Linked DNA regions of Homo sapiens: all the other regions are linked to region 2. The links are contacts of gene promoters, found by promoter capture Hi-C in blood cells and fetal thymus (Javierre and others, 2016). All regions are on one chromosome and are shown on one strand. Each heading gives the region's core, a stretch centred on a gene start or on the middle of the fragment in contact. The rest is flanking DNA. Distances are from core to core; before and after follow the strand shown. Region 1 overlaps LOC124903617 (a long non-coding RNA gene). Region 2 holds the start of MRPL28 (mitochondrial ribosomal protein L28). Region 3 overlaps SNRNP25 (small nuclear ribonucleoprotein U11/U12 subunit 25).

What was found. Contacts are between HindIII fragments. The CHiCAGO score rates a contact against its expected background, and 5 or more counts as called.
Region 1: a contact is called between a fragment that was not itself captured here and the fragment with the promoter of MRPL28 in region 2, in 4 of 17 cell types (erythroblasts, activated CD4 T cells, naive CD4 T cells and 1 more). The highest score is 7.1, in erythroblasts.
Region 3: a fragment that was not itself captured here is called in contact with the fragment with the promoter of MRPL28 in region 2 in 14 of 17 cell types (erythroblasts, total CD8 T cells, megakaryocytes and 11 more); the score reaches 11.5 in erythroblasts.

The regions. Positions count from the first base shown.
Region 1 is chr16:72,928-76,166 of GRCh38, forward strand. It overlaps LOC124903617 (a long non-coding RNA gene), which reads left to right. Exons shown (of 2, transcript XR_007064932.1): 1 at 1-9; 2 at 1,453-2,063. It also overlaps a transcript of RHBDF1 not described here. Among named protein-coding and RNA genes, the nearest start is that of RHBDF1, 1.9 kb to the left of the region's middle. RefSeq lists enhancers at 1-735, 736-1,552, 1,553-2,370. The HindIII fragment of the contact is 1,666 bases long and covers 1,132-2,797 here.
Region 2 is chr16:369,088-371,787 of GRCh38, forward strand. MRPL28 (mitochondrial ribosomal protein L28) reads right to left here and starts at 1,451. Exons shown (of 6, transcript NM_006428.5): 1 at 1,412-1,451; 2 at 844-1,138; 3 at 1-133. The coding sequence starts at 1,131. PGAP6 (post-GPI attachment to proteins 6) reads right to left here. Exons shown (of 13, transcript NM_021259.3): 13 at 1,701-2,700. The HindIII fragment of the contact is 7,915 bases long and covers 1-1,836 here.
Region 3 is chr16:56,018-59,157 of GRCh38, forward strand. It overlaps SNRNP25 (small nuclear ribonucleoprotein U11/U12 subunit 25), which reads left to right. Exons shown (of 5, transcript NM_024571.4): 4 at 522-596; 5 at 1,069-1,652. The coding sequence ends at 1,126. RHBDF1 (rhomboid 5 homolog 1) reads right to left here. Exons shown (of 18, transcript NM_022450.5): 17 at 2,957-3,110; 18 at 2,042-2,742. The coding sequence ends at 2,323. Among named protein-coding and RNA genes, the nearest start is that of SNRNP25, 3.8 kb to the left of the region's middle. The HindIII fragment of the contact is 6,639 bases long and covers 1-3,140 here.

The DNA.
Region 1 (3,239 bases), core at 715-3,214, 300 kb before region 2:
GAGAAGAGGGTGAGGAGGGAGAGCAGGCACGGGGTAAAGGGCGGAGGATGGGTGTGTATCCCTGGCTCCCCTAAACCCGACCTCCTCCAGAGGCCCACGCTGACAAGTCCTGTATCCCACACTCACCCAATCCCACTAAGCACTCACATTCCCTCACACACATTCATGTGCACCGATCACTCACAATCATACACACACGTCCCCACATCCTTCCACTTCATGCGTTCATTCGCCTGCACATGCACGTGCTCACATGCACCCACCTACTCATGTACATCTTTCATGGGTACATACACGTGCACACACACACGTGTACACACCGATGCACACACTCAGTTCAGGACCACAGTCATTACCCCTCCCCCTGCCCTGTGCCCCTACCCCCAGAAGCCCCGCTCCACCAGCAGGCACTCAGGCCAGGCTGCACCGGCCCCACCCGAAGCCACTCAGCAGAGGCAGCGCAGTGTCTGGTGTCCACTCTGGGCTCTTCTCACTGTCTCAGAGCTCAGCGGCCACCCCGGGGTGGGCTCATATCCCTGCACAATCTGGGCTGGACTCAAAATGGCACTCTGCTTTCCGCTGGGGCTGCTGGTGAGAGTTTCCCAGCATTTCTCTCCTGACACTGGGTGGGCTGACCCTCCCAGGGTGGGGGACAGGGGTGCCAACAGCAGAGTACGGGCAGGGCTGTCCAGGAGCTCTGAGTGGTGGGTGGCCAAGGCTTCCTCTGGATAGAGGGTGCAGGGATCCCTTCGTCCCATGGGTCCCTAAGGACCCCTCTACAGGGTGCCCCCCCATGCCTCGGACAAATGTGTCTTCAGGCCCTGTGCTGGTCACAAGGTGCTGCTGCTTCAGTGCCATCCTCTGGGTCTGGGTGGCACCAGCCCTCTCCAAACTGAGCTGTTGCACTTGAGGGCCCGACGCAGACAATGGCCTGCTCCTTGGCTAGACAGAAAAGGGGAGAATTTGAACTAAAGGTGCTGGTACACTTACCGGTAGATCCCAGAGCCTGGGCAAGATTCCCCTGCCCATATCCTTGTCCATGCCACGGGATAGGGCGGTGCCTGCACATAATGGGTGCTCTCTGAACACAAGCAATATCAACACAATTCTCATGTAGAAGGAGACAATGGAAGCTTTGGAGGGGGTGGAGGGTAACTCCACCAGGGGATGACTGCCAGTGCATCACGGACACCGGGTGAGAGGGAGCCTGCCCCAGTGCCAACACTCAGTGCTCCGATAGCCTGCACGTGCCACCCCTCCCATGCCAGGCTCACAGCCAGAGACAGGACAGTCTCCATGCTTAGCATTATTGACCTGCCAGGGATAAGCAAGCCCTATCGGGCCTGGATGCCCAGACTAGGCTGGCAGGGCCAGAAGTGGTGTCCTCTCTGGAAAGCTGGGGACTGGGCTTGCCTCCAAAGCATGCCACAGCTGGGCATCTGGTGTCAGCAGGTCTCCTCCTGCAGTGGACTCTGTCAGACCCCACCTAGACCCGCTCCAAGACCCAGACACTCATCGCCAGCTGCCAGGAGCACCAGTCACAGCTGGCTCAGAGCTGAAACCCCCCGCACCCAGGAGTCACCTTCAGTGGGGAGCATGCCCCAGTCTGCCTCTGCAGGCAAATCCCCAGCTCAGAGCCTGTGTCCAGGAATCCCCAGGCTCTCAGCCCACCCTGGCCTCCTGAGTGAGGTCATCAGAAGGATGATCAGAGGGGGGTCGATACACGTGTGCTCAGTGTCAGGCCTCTGAGCCCAAGCCTGCACGTATACATCCAGATGAAGCAAGTGAAGAATCACAAAAGAAGTGAAAATGGCCGGTTCCTGCCTTAACTGATGACATTACCTTGTGAAATTCCTTCTCCTGGCTCAGAAGCTCCCCCACTGAGGCACCTTGTGACCCCCACTCCTCCCCGCCACAGAACAACCCCCTTTGACTGTAATTTTCCACTGCCCGCCCAAACCCTATAAAACGGTCCCACCCCATCTCCCTTCCCTGACTCTCTTTTCTTCGGACTCAGCCCGCCTGCACCCAGGTGAAATAAACAGCCTTGTTGCTCACACAAAGCCTGCTTGGTGGTCTCTTCACACGGACGCGCACGAAACTCAGGATTGTACCCAGTCCACATAGACAAGTGTGTGCACATATGTGTGCTCTGCCTCCTGCCTGCCCTACTACTCTCTGTCCTGGTGGAGGAGCCCCCTATACGGAAACCCAGCTCCCGGCCCCTCTCTTCCCGCGTCATGCACCCTGGAGAAATGGAAATCAGCTGCAGTTGCCCAGCACTCCCGGGGCTGGTGGGCAGGCGTCTGAGAATGGGTTAGGGTTAGGGTCTAGACCAAACCCAGGGTTTGTGGCCCTCACACCAGGACACGAGGGAATGGGAGCCCTGACCAGTAAGAGGAGTGTTCCCAACAGCTACCCCAGAATCCTCTGCTACCCCAGAATCCTCAGCTCAGCTTCTAGGCCACAAGTAATCACCCAAGGGGTCAGACCCTGGGCTTTGGGGAGTCCCTGGAAGGATCAGAAGAAACCGCCCGGGGAGCAGGGCTCCAGGGATGGGCCCATGACCAGCTCCTGGCTATTTGGGGAAGAGGCAGAAGGGGGCCAGGCCAGCCAGTGGCCTGAAGTCATAGGCTATTTCTGAGGCAGCTGCCCCCTCCCCATATCCCAGGGTTTGGCAAGGGGTTCCCATAAGCACCTGGGCCCAGGGCCTGGCAGCACAGCCCCAGGCAGGGAGGATGTAGCTCACACACACCCAACCTCGGCCTGCCCAGTGGCTGCCTTCTCTGCCCAAGGAAGCTTTGGCCCTCCAGGGCTCATCAGACACAGATGGCCGCAGAGACCAGTCAAGAGGCCAGCAGCCACCCTGCTGGGAAGCTGCCAGCTCAAAGCTGTGTAGAGGAGTCCATGGGCTCTGACCTGACACCCACCTCAACAGCTGTCAGCACCCCCCTCCATCAGAGAGAAGACGGAGCCAGTGTGCTGGGCACCCTGGGGTCATAAGGCTGATACTAGAACCCTGGCCCCTGTAGCCAATACAGCCACATCTCTCAAAGACTTGTTTATAAAGGCTCCAGCGACTGATGGCCACACCTCCTACAGCTGGAGGCAGCTCCAGCCCCTCCACAGCCTGTGGCCTATTGTGGAGGTCGGGGGTCAGGGCTGCTCACCCCAGCACCAATACTAGCCTTCACTCCTTTCAAAGCCTCAAGGGTGTTCTCATCTCCATCTTCCACTGA
Region 2 (2,700 bases), core at 201-2,700:
GCCCATAAGCCTCATCGATGAGGTCCAGGGTCCGCATGGTCACAGTCACTGTGAACTTCTTGTCCAGGATCTCACTGTAGAACTCTCGCTCAAACAGCTGTGGCTTCCACACTTTCTTCAGCCTCTTGGAGAGCTGAGGGTGCAACAGAGCCTCCATGAGTACTGCTGCTTTCTCTTACATACCAAGGGGGGCCCAGGCAACTGCCCTCACCTCCCCCCCGGAGGCTCCATCACAGAACCACTGCTGTCAGACTGGGGACCTAGAGCTAACTGGGCCGGCCCCCAGCCCAGTGCCGCCCCAGCCCGACCCGGGTCCTGACTGTGTACCCAGAAGTCAGCTGCTCCCCAACAAGCTGGGCGTTCCCGCCCTGGTCACATGGTTGCTGCATGTGTTTCAGAAACATGTGCGACCCCACAGTTTACAGGTTGTCACATTCCAACCTGGAGGTGACACAAGTCTCCCCACAGGCTTCAGCAGTCCCGCCAGGAAGTCCACCACAAGCAGCCTCGAAGCTCTGCTCGCCTCCCCCACCTGCTCTGCTCGCCTCTCCCACCTGCTCTGCTCATCACACAGGCCTCCTCCCCATCCTAACTTTACCCCGACTCCCCACGGCCTCTGGTTGCTCCCCCGGCCTGAGTCACCCCACCTCACCCCTACTTTATCAGTCCTGTTTGCCAGAACTGCGGTTCTTCACTCAGCGTGCTCCTTTGCCGGAGATGTGTCGCCTCCAGGCTGTAATCCCCAGGGCCCACCCAGGTCTCTCCAGGTACCCCGGGCGTCCGGCACAGAGCCGGCACAGCCAAGCCCTGAGAGGAGCCCCTGAAGGCCGCCTGCGGACCCACCTTGTCGTTGTTGGCATATATTTGGCCCAGGATCCAGCCCTCGCCGCCCCACAACCCCCGCTGGGATTCGGGGGGAAAGTAGATGGGAATGGGCACGTCCTCCACACGCTCCCGCTGCCCGTTCTTGGGGTTGATCTTGAACTTGGCCCCATGAGGCCTATAGTGCACGGGAGTGGGCGTCCGCTCCTCCTCCAGGGAGCGCAGGTAGTGGCCGGGCAGGCGGGAACAGATGCCCTCCCGCAGCTGCAGCCGCTTCCAGAGCCACACGGGATACTTGTGTAGAGGCATCGCGAGCCTGGCGGGAGGTGGGGGCTCGCAGTCAGTCGCAGCCTGGCCAGGCCCCCGGCACTCACCCCCTACCCCGGCCCCCGACTCTCACCCGCTACCCCGGCCCCCGGCTCTCACCCGCTACCCCGGCCCCCGGCTCTCACCCGCTACCCCGGCCCCCGGCTCTCACCCGCTACCCCCTACCCCGGCCCCCGGTTCTCACTCCGGCCCCTGTCCCGCACCCACCTGCCCCTCCCCTTCTGCCCCGGCGCCCCCCCACACCCCACCTGCCCGCGCCCACCTTTCAGGGTTCAGAGCCCACCGGAACCGGAAGCCGATCTGCCGCGCCTGGCCCTCCTCCCACCGCTGACTGGCTGTAAAAGCCATCCGTCTACCCCCTCGTCCCGCCCCGCTTCCGTCTTTAGGGACCGTAAAAAACACCCCACATACAGCAGCAGCAGCTCAAGGCACCGTTAGCTACGTGCGGCCCCGGCGTTTCCGCGAAGGGCGGCACGGGCGGGGCGGTGCTTGTTCTCCCGGGCCCCACTTACCCTACCCGGGAAGGAGCACAGAAAAAATGTAAAAACTCGTTTAGTTTGAAAAATCAATGTAGAATATTAAATTCACCAAACACAGATAGATCAGATCTACATAAAAATATGTCTTAATATCTTAGAATTTTCCTTTACTCCAAAAAACCCCATATATATATGTTTCTCCTTTATAAGCTTAGAGATTGCTTTGGTGGTCAAGTGCAGGGCGGCTGGGGGAGGTAAGACCTTCAGGAAGGCCATATCCCGGACAAGACCCAGAAGGGAAGCCCCCAGAGCCAAGGGTAGGAGGGCCCCACCCGGGTCTCAGCCACTCACTTCTCCAGGGCGGATCCGAGACACTCACAGGCCTCAGGGAGGGGCCAGGTGCTGCTCCTGGTCATTGCTTCCCCCACAAGGTTTGCATGAGGAGCAGAGACAGTCCAGTCTCCTGAACACCCACAGGGCACAGAGCCCAGTGCAGGGGGCAGACACCACCGCAGCTCCTGGGACCAAGAGGAAGCTCCCAGAGGGGGGCCCAGGAACGCTGGGGTGGGTGGACAGGGCTGGGTAGGGGTTCCTTCTGGGCCAAACCCCCAGAGCAGCAGAGCACCCCAGTCCAAGGAAGCTCTTCTCAGGGACCCAAGGCTCCAGAGCCAGGAAAAAGGGAGGGGCGGGGCGGGAGCCTGCATCCCCAGTGCCCATCAGCTCTGGGGGAAACCTCCGTCTCCCGTCCCTATGGTGACCACAGCAGCAGAGGGGGATCCTCCATGCCCCAGGCAGGCTGGCATCAGGGCCACACAGGGGCCAGGAGCAGGGGTCTCGGAGTCCACAGCTCCCGGCCCCAGTGGTGGGCTCAGGGCTCCTGGGCGCCATGGGTCTCACCACAGCCTCGCCAGGGAACAGGACCATAGGGAGTCCTTCTCCCCATCTCTAGCCACCCACAGGCCAGCAGAGCACACAGCCCCACCCTCGCACAGGCACCTGTGGTCTCCAAGTAACCAAGCCCAGGCCCCAGGGGCCACTGCAGACAGCAGCTGGGATCTGCAGAGGGATCTCA
Region 3 (3,140 bases), core at 284-2,783, 310 kb before region 2:
TCACAAGAGTGATGAGCTCCCTGTCACAGACAGTGCGGGTCGTTCTGTGCCTGGGACTCCTGCCTCGGCCATCCCCAACATTCTGCTCTTCCATCGGCATCACCCCATCCGAGCTGCTGGGTATCTTCACTTGGGGACACTGTCGGGAATTTCCAGTGTGTCTGGAAGTGGCCTCCCTAGTTTTGGATGGTACACCTGTAGGGGCTCCCATCCCCTTCTCACCTGGGTGCTGTCAGCCCTCACTCTCCTATTGGATCAACTATCCTGTTCACTGAGTCTCAACACTGTCGCCTGTTGCATTAGCAAGGTTTGTTTGGCCAAGCCGCCCCAGACAGCCCTCTGAGAACAGAGCCTCCTTGTAGCTGCCTCAGACCCAATCTGCACATTGTACAGAACAGCCCAGGTAGGGAGGACAGCTGCCCCAGGTCCCATAGGACTGCATGCCTCAAGCCCACGTCATGCAGAGCCACTCAGCTCACCCTGCTCAGGGCACGTGGTTTACCTGCATTCCCCTCTTGCAGGTCCTACGTGTGGAGGACGTACCATCTGACCTCTGCAGGAGAGAAACTCACGGAAGACAGAAAGAAGCTCCGAGAGTAAGTGCCGGCCACGTCCTGAGCCGTAGGGCACCGCTGTTCTGTTGCCCCTTAGTCCCCCATGCTCTGCCAGAGGGCTGCGGCTCCCTCTCCGGAGATAACACCCTCCTCCAAGGAGCTTCCTTGGGGCCCTCCCCACTAGGAGAATGGCAGGCAGAGGGCAGCTGGAGGGGCCTTGCTGCTTCCCACCAGTGGCAGCTTAGGGCTACACAGTGCCAGGAGGGAGGAAATCAGAGTGGGCATGGAGGCGAAAGGCTGTGACTCTATCTGACACTCAGTTCCCTGCCCCGGGGACTTGTGAGTCGGAGTGCTTCTGGGTCTGTGAGAGGATGGCCACTGCACTTCCTGGCCTTCCCAGAAGCCACACGCCTCCCCTCTGTTGTTTCTTCGTGGTCCTCCACAGCCTCAGGAGGGGAGTCACAGATATGTCCTTCTGTAGGGCAGGTGCTTTATGCCTTTCCTTCTTTTTCAGCTACGGCATCCGGAATCGAGACGAGGTTTCCTTCATCAAAAAGCTGAGGCAAAAGTGAGCCTCCAGACAGGACAACCCTCTTCATCACTGGTGGCTGAGCTTTTTCCCAGCAGGAATGGGTCCTCGAATCATCGTGCCTCTTTCACAGAAAGGACGTTGTGGTGGCCTCACCCCAGGCATGCCCAACAGTAACTGTCAGCATAAACCTGGGGGCCCTCAGGACTAGGACAGGGTGAGCCAGTGCTCCCTCCTTTCATGTACTTGGCCTGAGACTGACCTCTCCCTAGGTCCAAATGCCCTAGTCACATGGCAGACCCACGGCCTGGCCCACTGTATAAAATAAACCTGTTTGCTTCTTAGTTTGAAAAGTAGAAAGCCACAGTAACCTGGGTAGCAAAGACTGAGATTGCCCCATCACAGAGGTGAGTTAAGGGGAGAGAATTGGTACAGGCGAGTCCTATAGTCCAAGATGGCGCCACACCACCAAAGCCTTGAGGCCACACCACTCCCCAAACCACACAACTGTGTTACCATGATCTCCACAGCAAGGAGGAAATAAAAGCAGAGCGGCTTTAGGGTTTGCATCCTGGAGCTCACAGTGGCAGCAAGCATAGCACAGCTGTGTGTGGGCCCTCCAGCCTCAGCCTTTAGGGTTCCCTGCAGCAGGTTCGGTGGACAGGGAGGGAGTGTGGGGTGGAAATTGGAGCTGCTAAGGGTGGGGGCGGGGTGCTTCCCAGCATGTGGGGAGGGTATGACAGTACATCCCTAGGTCCCTGTCCCAGCGTCGGCTACCAGCCACTCTAAGAAAGAGCAAGGTGCACGTGCCTGGCTGAAGGATTTCACTGGGAAGTGAAAGAGCCCGTGACTGTATCTGACACTCAGTTCCCTGCCCGGGTGAGTCAGCCACAAGGGGCCTGCAGGACCTCCCTCCACAGCTTCCAGCCAGAAACAAAGAAGGATAGGGAAGCCCTGGTCAAGTTAATGGCAGCTAAAACGCTCCCAGTCCATTTATTGGCCACATGAGGTGGTCGTCAAGAAACAAGTTAGAAGGTTATGACAGGAAGTAGTATAATAAATGCCCGGCAGTACGAGGGGTTCAACAGAAGTGAACAAGGCACAAGAAAGAGGTCTGTGTTCAGGAAACAGGCCAGTCCCCACATGGAGCAGGTGACTCCTGTAAGCCTGTGAGGCTCAGGGAGGTCGTGTCTGGCTCTGGCCTGCTGGAGCACACGGCCGCTGGAGCCCGCAGCCAGCTCAGTGGAGCTGAGCGTCCAGTTCGTACTTCTCACAGAACTTGTCAGTGAAGGGGATGCAGGTGAGGAACTCACACCACTCACAGCGGACAGGATAGACGTAGAAGAGGACCACCAGGCCAGCCAGGAGGCCCAGGAAGACCACCTGAAAGATGATGATCTGGCAGCGTTTCCGGTACAGGTCGAACTTGCCAAAGCTGATGTAGGGCAAGAAGGCGAAGGAGAGGAAGAGGCCACTGATGAACCCTGAGATGTGGGCAAAGTTGTCAATCCACGGCAGCAGCCCAAAGGTGAAGAGGAAGAGCACCACAGCCAGCAGCTTGAAGAAGGCACGCCAGGGCCGCGCCAGGATCTGCCAGCTCTGGAAGAGCTCCACGAAGAGGCAGGCCAGGATGCCGAACTGGGAGCCAGCAGGACCCACCTGGGGGATGGTTGGGGTAGCTGTAAGGCAGTGGGGCTGGGCAGGCCCCCTGGACCCAAGGCCTCATCTTTCTGCCCCACTTCCCATGGCCCAGAGCATATTGGGACCGAGGATCCAACTGGAGATGCTCCCAGACTCAGTGCTCGATATGGACAGGTTCACAGCAGGCTGCAGGTGCACACGGGAGGATCCCCACCCTGAGGGCCAGCCTTACCTCTGCTCGGTATGGCAGGAAGATGGCACTGGCCAGGTTGCCGGTGACACCACTCAGCAGGTAGATGATGGCTATGCGGTGCCAGCCTGCCAGCTTCTCCAGGTCCCGCAGGACAGTCATCTGGAAGCAGATGGACACCAGGCAGTGCAAGATCCTGTAGTCAGTAGCAGGCGGGGGTCGGGAG